Regions from separate parts of the Homo sapiens genome. Here all the other regions are linked to region 2. The links are contacts of gene promoters, found by promoter capture Hi-C in human tissues and cell types (Jung and others, 2019). All regions are on one chromosome and are shown on one strand. Each heading gives the region's core, a stretch centred on a gene start or on the middle of the fragment in contact. The rest is flanking DNA. Distances are from core to core; before and after follow the strand shown.

Region 1 (4,030 bases), core at 1,520-4,019, 39 kb after region 2:
ACACCTCCTCTAGGAAAGGCTTTCTTGACCTCTCCTAGGACAGGTGGATGCATTACCTAGTATGTATACTGGGTGGATTCCCATCACAGCACACTTGATTGAAACTGCTTCTTTACCTACAAGTCCCTCCTCCTGCCCTAGAGCTTCTTAAAGGGTGGTCCCTGTACCGGCAGCACTGGCATCACCCGGGAGCTTGATGGAAATGAAGAGTCTTGGACCCCAGCCCAGTCCCCCTGAGTCAGAAATCCTGAGTGTAGGTGCTAGCAATTTGTGCTCAACAAGCCCACCAGAGGATTTTCATATGTGCTAAAGTTTCAGAGCCATTGGGCTGAACTCTTAGCCCCATTAAGGTAGGATGTGTGATTTTTGGTTTCCCACTGTCCCTAGCTTTTAGCACACTGCCTGGCTAGATACTTGAGAAACACAGTCAGAGAAGAAATTCCAGTTATTCTTTTGGCAACTTGTCTGATCAGGAAATTTTTTAGTTGAAATCAGTTTAAATCTCTTCTCCTTTCTCCAAAGGAGATAAAGAACAACTGAGTACTTAAAAAAAATTTATTGTTATCTGGGCTCGGTGGCTCCTGCCTGTGGATCACCTGAGGTCAGGAGTTCGAGACCAGCCTGGCCAATATGGTGAAACCGTGTCTTTACTAAAAATACAAAAAATCAGCCAGGCGTGGTGGCAGGCACCTGTAATCCCAGCTACTTGGGAGGCTGAGGCAGGAGAATCACTTGAATCTGGGAGGCAGAGGTTGCAGTGAGCCAAGATGGCACCATTGCACTCCAGCCTGGGCAACAAGAGCAAAACTCTGTCTCAAAAAAAGAAAAGAAAAGAAAAAAAAATTATTGTGATAAAATATACACAACATACAATCTACCATCTTAACATTTTTTTTTTTCTTTTTGAGACAGAGTCTTGCTTTGTTGCCCCAGCTGGAGTGCAATAGCATGATCTCAGCTCACTGCAACCTCTGCCTCCGGGGTTCGAGCGATTCTCCTGCCTCAGCCTCCTGAGTAGCTGAGATTACAGGCACCTGCCACCATGCCCGGCTAATTTTTGTATTTTTAGTAAAGACGGGGTTTCACCATGTTGGCCAGACTGGTCTCTAACTCCTGCCCTCAGATGATCCAGTCAGCTTCCCAAAGTGCTCGGATTACAGGTGTGAGCCAATGCGCTTGACCTTAACCTTTTTTTTTTTTTTTCTTTTGAGACAGAGTCTCACTCTGTCACCCAGGCTAGAGTGCAGTGGCGCGATCTTGGCTTACTGCAACCTCCACCTCCTGGGTTCAAGCAATTTTCCTGCCTTAACCTCCTAAGTAGCTGGGACTACAGGTGCCCGCCACTATGTCTGGCTAATTTTTTGTATTTTTAGTAGAGACGCGGTTTCACCATATTGACCAGGCTGGTCTCGAACTCCTGACCTTGTGATCCGCCTGCCTTGACCTCCCAAAGTGCTGGGATTAAAGGCATGAGCCACTGCACCCGACCCAACCATTTTTAATTATACACTTCAGTGTCTTTAAGGGCATTCACATGGTTGTGCAGCCATCACCGCCATCCACCTCCAGAAGTTCTTCTCCAACTGAAGCTCTGCACTCATTAAACAACTCCCCTTCCTCCCAACCTTTGGCAACCATCATCCTGCTTTCTGTCTCTGAATTTGCCTACTCTGCATTCCTAATGTAAGTGAAATCATACATCATGTGTCCTTCTGTGACTGGTTTATTTTACTTAGCATGTCTTTATGCATGTGCCAGGATTTCCTTTTTAAGGCCAAATGATAGTTCCTTGTCTCTATACCACATTTTGTGTATCCAGTTATCAGATAGCATTTGGATTGTTTCTACCTCTTTGCTTTTGTGAATATCACTGTTGTGAACATGGGTCTACTGTATAAATATCTGCTCGGATTCCTGCCTTCAATTCTTTTGGGTATATACCCAGAAGTGAGATTGCTAGATCCTATGGTAATTCTATGTTTATTTTTTGAGGAACCATTATGCTGTTTTCCACAGTGGCTACACCGTTTTATATTCCCACTGGCAGTGCAAAAGTGTTTCAACTCCTCTGCAGCCTCACCAACACTTATTTTCTGTTTTTTTTTTTTTTTTTTTTTTTGACAACTGAAAGTGAAAAGTTAATTCAAGAATAGTGTCAGGCTGGGCACAGTGTCTCACACCTGTAATCCTAGCATTTTGGGAGGCTGAGGCAGGTGGATCACTTGAGGCCAGGAGTTTGAGACCAGCCTGCCTAACATGGTAAAACCCCATCTCTACTAAAAATACAAAAATTAGCCGGGTGTGGTGGCAGGAGCTTGTAATCACAGCTACTGAGGAGGCTGAGGCAGGAGAAACACTTGAACCCAGGAGGCAGAGGTTGCAGTGAGCCGAGATCACACCACTGCACTCCAGCCTGGGCTACAGAGCAAGACTCGGTATGAAAGAAAGAAAGAAAGAGAGAAAGAGAGAAAGAAAGAAAGAGAGAAAGAGAGAAAAAGAGAAAGAAAGAAAGAAAGAGGGAGAGAAAGAAAGAAAAAGAAAGAAAGAAAGAAAAAGAAAGAAAGAAAGAAGGAAGGAAGAAAAGAAGAAAGAAAGAAGGAAGGAAGGAAGGAAAGAAGGAAGGAAGGAAGGCAGGCTCCCTGGGGCAGGTGGCTGCACAGTCATGGCGGAGGTGACCAAAGCCACATCATGTCCGTCGTTCGTTCATCTGTCCATGCCAGATGGATCGTGGGGAAGGTGATTGGGACAAAAATACAAAAGACTGCTAAAGCGAGAGTGACCGGGCTTGTTCTGGATCCCTATTTATTAAAGTATTATAATAAGTGGAAAACCTCCTTTGTTCACGATGGCCTTCGGCAGTGCACAGCTGGGGATATCGTGCTTCTCAGAGCTTTACCTGTCCCATGAACGAAGCATGTGAAACATGAACAGGCCAAGATCATTTTCAAAGTTGGAAAAGTCATAGATCCAGTGACAGGAAAGCCCCGTGCAGGAACTACCTACCTGGAGAGTCTGTTGAGTTTAGAAACTACCCAGCTAAGCAAAAATCTGGAAGAACTCAGTATCTCTTCGGCACACTGAAGGAGGAGTGGAAGGAGCTAAAGGGAAAGATTGACATGTTTATGTTATGCAAAAATAAATTTTTCAAAGCTTCATCCCCCCGCCCCCCAAAAAAAAGAACAGTGAAGAATTGTGTCAGAGGAAGAGAAAGTTTTCCAAACTTTCTTCAATTTACTTACTTGGTCAATTAAAACCCAGACATTGAGTACTTATTGTGTGATAAGTTGCTATGTTAAAAGAAATGACATCAATAGAATTGATTCTAGTAGGTTCTGTTTAGTTCTAACAAACTTGAAAATGTTTGTTGGAATTTGAAAAATAAATGCATATGAAAGCTTAAATGTTGAAATGTTACCTCTCGTTTCTGATACAATTTGTGGAAACAGAGCTCTATCTTTAGAGTACAATTTTTTTTTTTTCTTTTGAGATGGGGTTTCGCTCTTCTTGCCCAGGCTGGAGTGCTGTGGCACGATCTCGGCTCACCGCAATCTCCGCCTCCCAGGTTCAAGCGAATCTCCTGCCTTAGCCTCCCTAGTAGCTGGGATTATAGGCACGTGCCACCAAGCCCGGCTGATTTTGTATTTTTAGTAGAGACAGGGCCTCTCCATGTTGGTCAGGCTGGTCTCGAACCTTGACCTCAGGTGATCTGCCCGCTTCGGCTTCCCAAAGTGCTGGGATTACAGGCATGAGCCACCGCGCCCGGCCTAGAGTACAATTTTTTAACAACCATTTCATTCTGACAATCAATCCTAAGAAATGACTTGATAACAGTGCAAAAAACGTGTGTTCAAGGAGTTCATTTTCCCTCACTTAGATTCTCATTCTTTGAACTCCTGACTTTCTTAGAACTCCAAGTGCCAGTTATCTTTGGATCAAGAGAAGTAATCTCTATCAACATCTGGTTGCTATGTCTCAGATTTTTAAAAGATTGTTCAAGGCTGTAAAGACACAGCCTTGAATTACTACGTTT
Region 2 (4,020 bases), core at 521-3,020:
CGTCCTTGTTTAGTCTCTTCTATGTAACATTTTCTTGGACAGGTTGAGCACTTGGTAGTGGATCTGCAAGGAGGGGGTGCCCCCTTTAGTCTGGAATCCCCTCTTGATTCCTAGGTTTGCTGGCATTTATCCAGATAGGGGCAGAGTCTTCCTAAACGGCTTCCCTCCTTTGGAGTCTGCTGCTCCTTGCATGCCATAACCCAGTCTTGAGAACCTGGCTCACCTTCCATTGCTCCCCTCTCCCAGTCAGTTGCAGGTTGTGGCCACTTCGTGCCCTATCTCTCTTCTGTGGTGTCCCTTGAATTTCCTCCTTTTTACTTCCCCTGGCAACTCCTCCGTATGTCGCTGTCCCAGCCTCTCAAGTGATTCTCCCATCTTCAGTTTTATCCTCTCTAGACTATCTCCCTATTATTTTCCCTAAAACACAACCTTGATCATGCTCATGCTCGGTCCTAAATTGTCAACGGTTTGCAGGTGCTACCAAAAACAAGTCTAAATGTCTTAGATCAACCAGTGTCACCAACAGGCCCTATGTTCTCTTGCATCGGTACCTTTGTTCTGTCGTTAGCTTCAGAATATAAGTGCTGGAAGAGACCATCTGGTCCAATCTCATTTTACAAATGAGGAAACTGAGGCCTGGATAGATTGAGTGACTGACCAGCACCTAGTCAGAGATCAAGTTTGACTCATGAAAAAGAAGCCTAGAGCAGCCTCGGGGTTGGTATCAGACAAGATTCTACCAGTTGGCCACCCGTTGAATACCCTCTCTACACAACTCTGATCCTTAAAGCTGTGGATCTTTGAGTCCCATCAAGCACGGCCTCCTGTAGGAAGCCTCTGTGATGACCCAGTTGGGAGTCTGGACTCTTGGGCATAGATGTGAGCCTCTAGGTGACTGGGAATCGTGTGGGAGTCCTGGCTCCCCTACTGCATTTTAAGCAAACTCTGATCTTTGATTTTCCTCCATTCTTATCCCAACGACTCGGTCCATAGTCGGGGAGCGGCAAAAGTCTACTCAAGAAGGAGGGTAATGTCTATACTGCCAGGGAGGCACGATTCACCCGCTCAGACACCAGCCAGCAACGAGGCGCTGAGTCCAAAATTTCCACCTACACCGCGTGGTTCACGGGCCGCACCTTAACTCCTTTTGACTCCAAACCCAAAAAAACTCGATAGCGTTTGGACTCGGCAGAAAGCCTGCTGGCTGCAATCACAGGATACGTTTCTGGAAGTCTTGAGGCGCAGCCTCTTTCTTCACCCTCCACGCGGCGAACTTTGACGCGCATTCGGTGACCGGTCCCCAAACATGACTTGGCATCAAGAGGACACAGCTCCCCTTACCGAGGGAGCTCAGGTCCCGGGCGCGCCGCGGCCCCGCCAGCTTTCCAGGCTGGCTCAGTCCTCGACCCGGGGTGACGGCCAAGCCAGCCAAGGGCAGCGGGAAAGTGACGCTGGGCTGGAGAGGTGTGGTGGCGAGTGCGGCCCCCGGGGAGCTAAGAGCAGCCGCAGCAACTGGGTCTCAGGCTGGGCGAGGCAAGGGCTCGTAGGCTGGGCTCGGAAGACTGAAAGGGGTGCCCACCTGACTCCAGGACGCACGGAGGGCGTGGGGCAGGAGCTGGACCTGGGCCGCCTCGGGCCGCCCCGGGGCTTGCAGTCCAGCCCCTCTCCGCCCTAGGGAGGGAAAAAGGGAGGGGAGAAGGCCGAGCCCGCCTCCAGCCCCAGCCCCAGCCCCAGCGAGGCTCGGCGGCCGCGGCTGCTGGAGGGAAACCAGAGGCACCTCCCCGAGCGGAGAAACCAGTTTGGCCGGTCCGGCGGAGCGGAGGCAAAAGGGCGGCTGCAGAGGAAGGGTGCACGGACGCGGGGCGGGGAAAGGCGGGGGAGCCACTAGCGAGCCGCGAGAGCCGGAGGTGCCGCCGCCAACTAGACACGCTTCCCCGGGCCCCCGGCCAGCCCCCGTGCGCCATGCAGCGCTAGCGCGGCGGCCAGGGCTGGGGCCGGGCGGGCGGCGGCAGCGGCCAGGTGCGCAGCGAGCGCTCCGAGCGGCGCGCACCAGGCGGATGCCCCAGCCGGGGCCCAGCGAACGCCAGGTAAGCAGGGGTGCGGCGCCGGGGGCCCCCAGACCTTCCCAAGCCCCTTGGCCCGGCGGTGTCCTGCAGGTTCCCTGGCCGCTCCCGCCGCACTTTGGAGATCCGGGATGCGGCGGCAGCAGCTGTCAGCGCCCTCGGACTCCCGAGCCCGCACAGGTGGGATTTGGGTGGAGGTGCTGGGAGCCCCCGAGGCCTCGGGGACGGCGAGACACGGCCGGCTGGGCAGGCAGCGCTGCGGAGAGTTCCGTGGGGTTTTCACCTGCCTAGAGGAGGGAAATCTCGGGGTGTTTGGGTTCTTCGATCGGTAGCGACACACATGTCCGGGGGTTAAGCCAGGTAGGGCTTGCGGCTCCTTGGGGGATGCCGCTGGCTCCTGTGCGGTGGCTACCGCCCCTCTGGAAGACCCCGGTGACCGGGTCCTGCTGGGGCGCTCTTTGGGAGCAGATGCCAACGTGTCCGAAAAGGACTTGCGGGCCAAACGTATCTGACCGCGGCCCACCTGCCGGGAGGGATGGAGGGGGTGAGATCGCTCTCCTCCCCAGCTCCTGTGGCAGGGCCAGGTACTCCCAGACATCTTCCGTGCGCTTTATTGTGGGATGGGGAGGGGAGGTGATGGGGAAGACCGACACCACTGTTTTTCCGGTGACTGTCGGGTCGCGTCCGCCAGCCCCGCTGAGATGGCTGCAGGCATCTCCTTCCCTCAGCAGTTTGGTGCCCTGCGCTGTCACCTCGCTGTGTGCACGAGGAGGGGCAACTTGTTGGGGGGCGCGGGGAGATGTTGCAGAGAATGGCCCAGTGCTTTAACACCCCTCGCCCCCACTTCTCCAACTCCCTCCTTCTCCCCAAAGTGAAAGAAAAGTTCTGAAGTGTCTGCCCAACTTTTCCGACGGAGGCGTGTGCCTGTGGTCCCTGCCGGGGGTTGGTGGCTGGTTGCGGGGGGGGGCGGTGCTCGGAGCGCAGATCCGTGACGGTTGTACGGGGGAGACTGGATTGCAGTAAGGATGCAAATTGGGGAAGGGGGATTGACACGCAGAAGTAAGGAGGACTTGGGCCGCGCTTCTGCCCGGTGAGTACCCGCTCAACCCTACCCGACCCCCTTGGCCTGCACGCGCTGCCCTTGGGGGCTGCAAGCTCTTCCTGGGTAGCTCCAGACGCCGCCGAGTTCCTCTCCCGGAAACTGGCCTCCCTGTTGGCGTGAGAAAATATTCGCTCCCATCTTCCTGGTTGCATTGCCTTCAAAATTTTGCCACTACCCATGGGAAACTAAAAAAAGAAAAAACTAGTGGGATGTTTGGAGATCACCCGGCACACGGTAGGTTATCGATGAAGGTTAACTGCTTTCAGGAACAAAAGCTAAAAAAAACCACGCGTGATAAAGCCTCCAGGGATAGTGAATACGAGCCCGTATATATGGGGGACACGACAGCAAATGTGAAGTAGAAGCGCTAATTTTCGTCCGCTAAGGAATACTTTTGTGTTAGACCTAAGATGCCGTTCATTAATTCTGGGCCTGTTGTTGAAGGCTTTATTAAACCCTATTATAAATGCGCAGACTGTGCACAAGATGATTAATGCTTATTAGCTGATTACTTTCTGGGGGAGAAGTCACGCCTGCCTGCAGTTAACTCCTCTGAATTCTCTTAATGATTTTCATTAGGTGGTGGAGTTTTCCTTGCTATAATTTTGGGAAGGAACATTAACCACTTTGTTCATTCGTCGTTTTCCAGTGGCTGTATTTTAGTAACTTTTAGTGATTCTTTGCGTGGGTTATTAAGGGCCGAGCAAGACTCTTTTGGTTATTACTGTCCAACACAGATGCCACCTGTGTGAGGTCAGCTCTGGCTGCTTTCAAGTTTTCCTTATGGATTTTAAGGAACACACACACCTGTGTGCACATGTTATTACATCCTAGTGATAGAACTGGGAGAGGTTT
Region 3 (4,217 bases), core at 838-3,337, 47 kb before region 2:
TAACAATTTGTGAACATGGTTTGTTTCTTCTTTTATTTGCGGGAGTGGGTGTGTGTATTTCTCTTAATAATGCATTACAGTTCTCTGTGTAAAGCTCTTGCGCATCATTTTTAAATTGTATTTCTTGAAACCTGATTTTTGTTTGTTTGTTTTAGACAGGGTCTCTCTCTGTCACCAAGGCTGGAGTGAAGTGGTACCAGCATGGCTTATTTCAACCTCGACCTCCTGGGCTCAAGCAATCCTTCCACCTCAGCCTTCTAAGTAGCTGGGACTACAGGCATGTGCCACCATGCCTGGTCGATATTTTTATTTTTTGTTGAGACAGGGTCTTACCTATGTTGCCTAGCTTAGGTTGGTCTTGATCTCCTGGGGTCAAGCCATCCTCCTGCCTCAACCTCCCAAAGTGCTGGAATTATAGGCATGAACCAGTGCACTTGGCCTGATACCTTATTTTTCTATGCTACTGCTATTTAAGGATGCAAGTGACTTTTTTTTTTGACGGAGTCTCACTCTGTTGCCCAGGCTGGAGTGCAGTGGTGCCATCTTGGCTCACTGCAACCTCCGCCTCCCAGGTTCAAGCGATTCTCCTGCCTCAGCCTCCTGAGTAGCTGGGATTACAGGTGTGTGGCACCATGCCCGGTTAATTTTTTTATTTTTAGTAGAGACAGGGTTTCACCATGTTGGTCAGGCTCGTCTCGAACTCCTGACCTTGTGATCCTCCCACGTTGGCCTCCCAAAGTGCTGGGATTACAGGCGTGAGCCACTGCACTAGGCCACAGTTGCCTTTTTACGTAGACATTATATGCAACAAAATTGCTTAACTCACTTATTCTAAATGCTTATTTATATATTCCTTTAGAATATTGTATATACACAGCCATATAACTTTCAAATAACGTCAGTAGAGTTTCTAAATGTATACATTTCTTTCTAAATCTTCAAATAACATCAGTAGTGTTTCTTTCTAAATTTCTAAATTTATTCTCTGTATTTTTCTATTCTTTATTCCCTGACTGGGACCTCTAGTACAATATTGAATAGAAGTGGTGATATTGAATATTCTTGTGGCAGATGTGGAGGTGAGTCTCTCATATCTTCCTTCAAAACAGAAGCCAGGTGCGGTGGCTCATGCCTGTAATTCCAGCATTTTGGGAAGCTGGGGCAGTTGGATCACCTGAGCTCAGGAGTTTGAGACCAGCCTGGCCAACATGGTGAAACCCCATTTCTACAAAAAATACAAAAATTAGCCATGCGTGGTAGCACACGCCTGTAGTCCCAGCTACTAGAGAGGCTGAGGCAGAAGAATTGCTTGAACCTGGGAGGTGCAGGTTGCAGTGAGTCGAGATCATGCCACTGCACTCCAGCCTGGGTGAGAGTGAGACTCCATCTCAAAAAAAAAAAAAAAAAAAAAAAACCTGCCTTGGAGAGTGCAGTTGGCTCACAGCTTCTGGCTGCAGGCACCTTCAGCATCTTCTTCAGCTTTTGAGCTGGGCCATAGATTTCCAGAGCAGCCTTCAATCAATTAATGGGCTTGGCAGTGATGCAAGGACTCATCTTTTTGGCCGGTGTGGGACTCCTCCATGGGAAATCTTTGAGCCACAGCTCCCCATTCGGCTAGTCAAGATATTCTCAGAGCTGCAGTGTAATTTGCTGTTCTTCCTACCTTATCCTCTTCCTTCCCTTCTCCTTGCACAGGGGTCAGATCAGCATTTAGGTCTGAAGCTTTCTCTGCCCTCTCTTGCTGCCTCCCCTCTTGAGCTTTCATGGGAATTGCCTCCAATAAATCCATTGCACTTCTAAATCCATCTTGACGTCTGCTTCCAAGAGGACTTAGCCAACATACTTGCCCTATTCCCCAAATCAAAAGAAAATTTTCAACATTTAACTATTAATTATGGTGTTCACAATAGGCTTTTTGTAGATGCTCATTATCAGATAAGGAAGTTTCTTTTTATTTTTTCCATTGATGACAAATGGATACCGAATGGATACCGAATGTAATCAAATTTTTTTCTACATCTTTTGACGTGATTTTACATTTTTTTCTCCTCTGTTCTGGTAATGTAGATAATTACAATGGTTGATTTTTGAGTGCTAAATAAATCTTCTTTTCCTGGGGAAAAAAAAACACCCAACTTGATCATTACTTATTGCCTATTTGCATATTGTTGGATTCTATTTGTAAATATTTTGCATAGGATTTTTACAACTATTTTCATGAGTGAGATTAGCCTGAAATAATCCTTTCTTGTAGTGGGTCTTTTTTGTAGTTTTCAGATCTCTGCTGAAATTATGTCTTGCTTTTAATCTTGAATATCATAAGCAAGTCTTGTCTGCTAACTCCAGTATCTGGAGTTCCTTTAGGTCTGTTTCAATTTTTGCTAGTTCTGCTCTTTTTTGCTCATATAGTATTTTGTCTCCACATGTGGCCTGGCTGTCTTTTTTCTTCTCTTTTATTTTCTTTTTTTAGATGGAGTCTCACTCTGTAGCCCAGGCTGGAGTGCAGTGGTGGGATCTTGGCTCACTGCAATCTCCACCTCCCAGGTTTAAGCAATTCGCCTGCCTCAGTCTCTCGAGTAACTGGGATTATAAGCCTGCGCCAGCACGCCTATTTTTTGTATTTTTAATAGAGGCAGGGTTTCACCATGTTGGCCAGGCTGGTCTCGAACTCCTGACATCAAGTGATCACCTGCCTCGGCCCCCCAAAGCGCTGGGATTACAGGCATGAGCCACTGTGCCTGGCTGCCTTGTTGTTTTTTATTCTGTGCTGGACTTTATATTTGCAAAATTATTTTTAGAAATAATTTGATGCCTAGGTTGATGCCATCTTTCTCTAGAGAAATTTGCCCCTGCCAGGAGCCTGGAACACTAGCAATCCAATTTGAGAGACTGGGAAGATTTGAGGTTGAGCTGCAGTCCCAACAATAGTGTGTTATATTCTAGTTCACCCCTATTCATAGCGTGTAGCCCTTCAGGGTTCTAACACAAAGCAAAAGTTGCTCATCGGGGCCTTACCTTCTTGGCAGCCCTGGACTCCAGGATGCCAGTGCACCTCTCCCTGCAATCCCTGCAAGGTTGTCCAAAAGCATTGATCAGCCTCTCAGGCACCCGCTCCTAGATCACCAAATATCAGTGGAAATGCAGCTCCCCTCCCTGAGATTCCATCCTCCCCAGATCTGAGCATTACAATTACTCACTTTGTACTCACTTATTATGATAGAGATTCCTATATAATATATGTCTATATGAAATTGTCCATTTAACTTAATTTTTCAAATGAACTGGCAAAAAGTTGTTCACAACTTACTCATATCTTTTTAATGTCTGTGGCGCTTAAGTAATGTTCCTTTTCCTTTTTCTTTTTTTTTTTTTTTTTGAGATAGAATCTTGCTCAGTCACCCAGGCTGGAATGCAGTGGTGTGATCATGGCTCACTGCAGCCTTAACCTCCTGGGCTTAAGCAATCCTTCCACCTCAGCCTCCCAAGTAGCTAGGACCACAGGTGCATGCCACAATACCCACCTAATTTTTGTATTTTTTTTGTAGAGATGGAGTCTTGCTATGTTGCTCAGGCTTGTCTCAAACTCCTGGCCTCAAGCAATCTGCCCACTTTGGCTTCCCAACGTACTGGGATTGCAGGCGTGAGCCACTGTGCCTGGCTTGTAATGTTCTTTCTTCGTTCATAACATTATATGTGTTCTCACTCTCTTTCCAGAGTTTTGCCATCTTATTATTCTCATGAAGGAATCACCTTATGATTGTGTCATTCCTCTCTATTGCATGCTTGTTTTCTTTTCTTTTCGAGAGAGGATCTCCCTCTGTCACTTCGGCTGGAGTGCAGTGGCACAATCATGGCTCACTGCAGCCTCCACCTCCTGGGCTCAAGCAATCCTCTCGCCTCAGCCTCCCAAATAGCTGGGACTACAGGCACATGCCACCACACCAGGCTAATTTTTTTTTTTTTTTTTTTAAATAGAGGTGAGGTCTCTCTATGTTGTCCAGGCTGGTCTTGAACTCCTGGCCTTCAGCCTCCCAAAGTGTTGGGATTACAGGCGTGAGCCACCGCACCCAGCAGTATATTTGTTTTCTATTTCATTGTTTTCTATTCTTATCTTTCTACTACTTACTTTCTACTTACTTTCTTATTACTACTATATATTTACTTATTTTATATTCTTTGGGCTTATTTTGTGGCTCTTTAAGTTCTTTAGATAGATA

Evidence for each region. Contacts are between HindIII fragments. The study calls those that stand out against the background at their distance.
Region 1: a fragment that was not itself captured here is called in contact with the fragment with the promoter of ATP8B1 in region 2 in 7 of the 25 tissues and cell types used here (IMR-90 fibroblasts, aorta, hippocampus and 4 more).
Region 3: a fragment that was not itself captured here is called in contact with the fragment with the promoter of ATP8B1 in region 2 in 2 of the 25 tissues and cell types used here (hippocampus and pancreas).

What each region holds. Positions count from the first base shown.
Region 1 is chr18:57,762,847-57,766,876 of GRCh38, reverse strand. The region is part of intron 1 of ATP8B1 (ATPase phospholipid transporting 8B1); the gene reads left to right. It also overlaps the pseudogene MRPS17P7. Among named protein-coding and RNA genes, the nearest start is that of ATP8B1, 38 kb to the left of the region's middle. The HindIII fragment of the contact is 4,120 bases long and covers 710-4,030 here.
Region 2 is chr18:57,801,065-57,805,084 of GRCh38, reverse strand. ATP8B1 (ATPase phospholipid transporting 8B1) reads left to right here and starts at 1,770. Exons shown (of 28, transcript NM_001374385.1): 1 at 1,770-2,087. RefSeq lists an enhancer at 1,513-2,150. The HindIII fragment of the contact is 14,543 bases long and covers 1-4,020 here.
Region 3 is chr18:57,847,746-57,851,962 of GRCh38, reverse strand. No RefSeq gene overlaps it. Among named protein-coding and RNA genes, the nearest start is that of ATP8B1, 47 kb to the right of the region's middle. The HindIII fragment of the contact is 6,491 bases long and covers 1-4,217 here.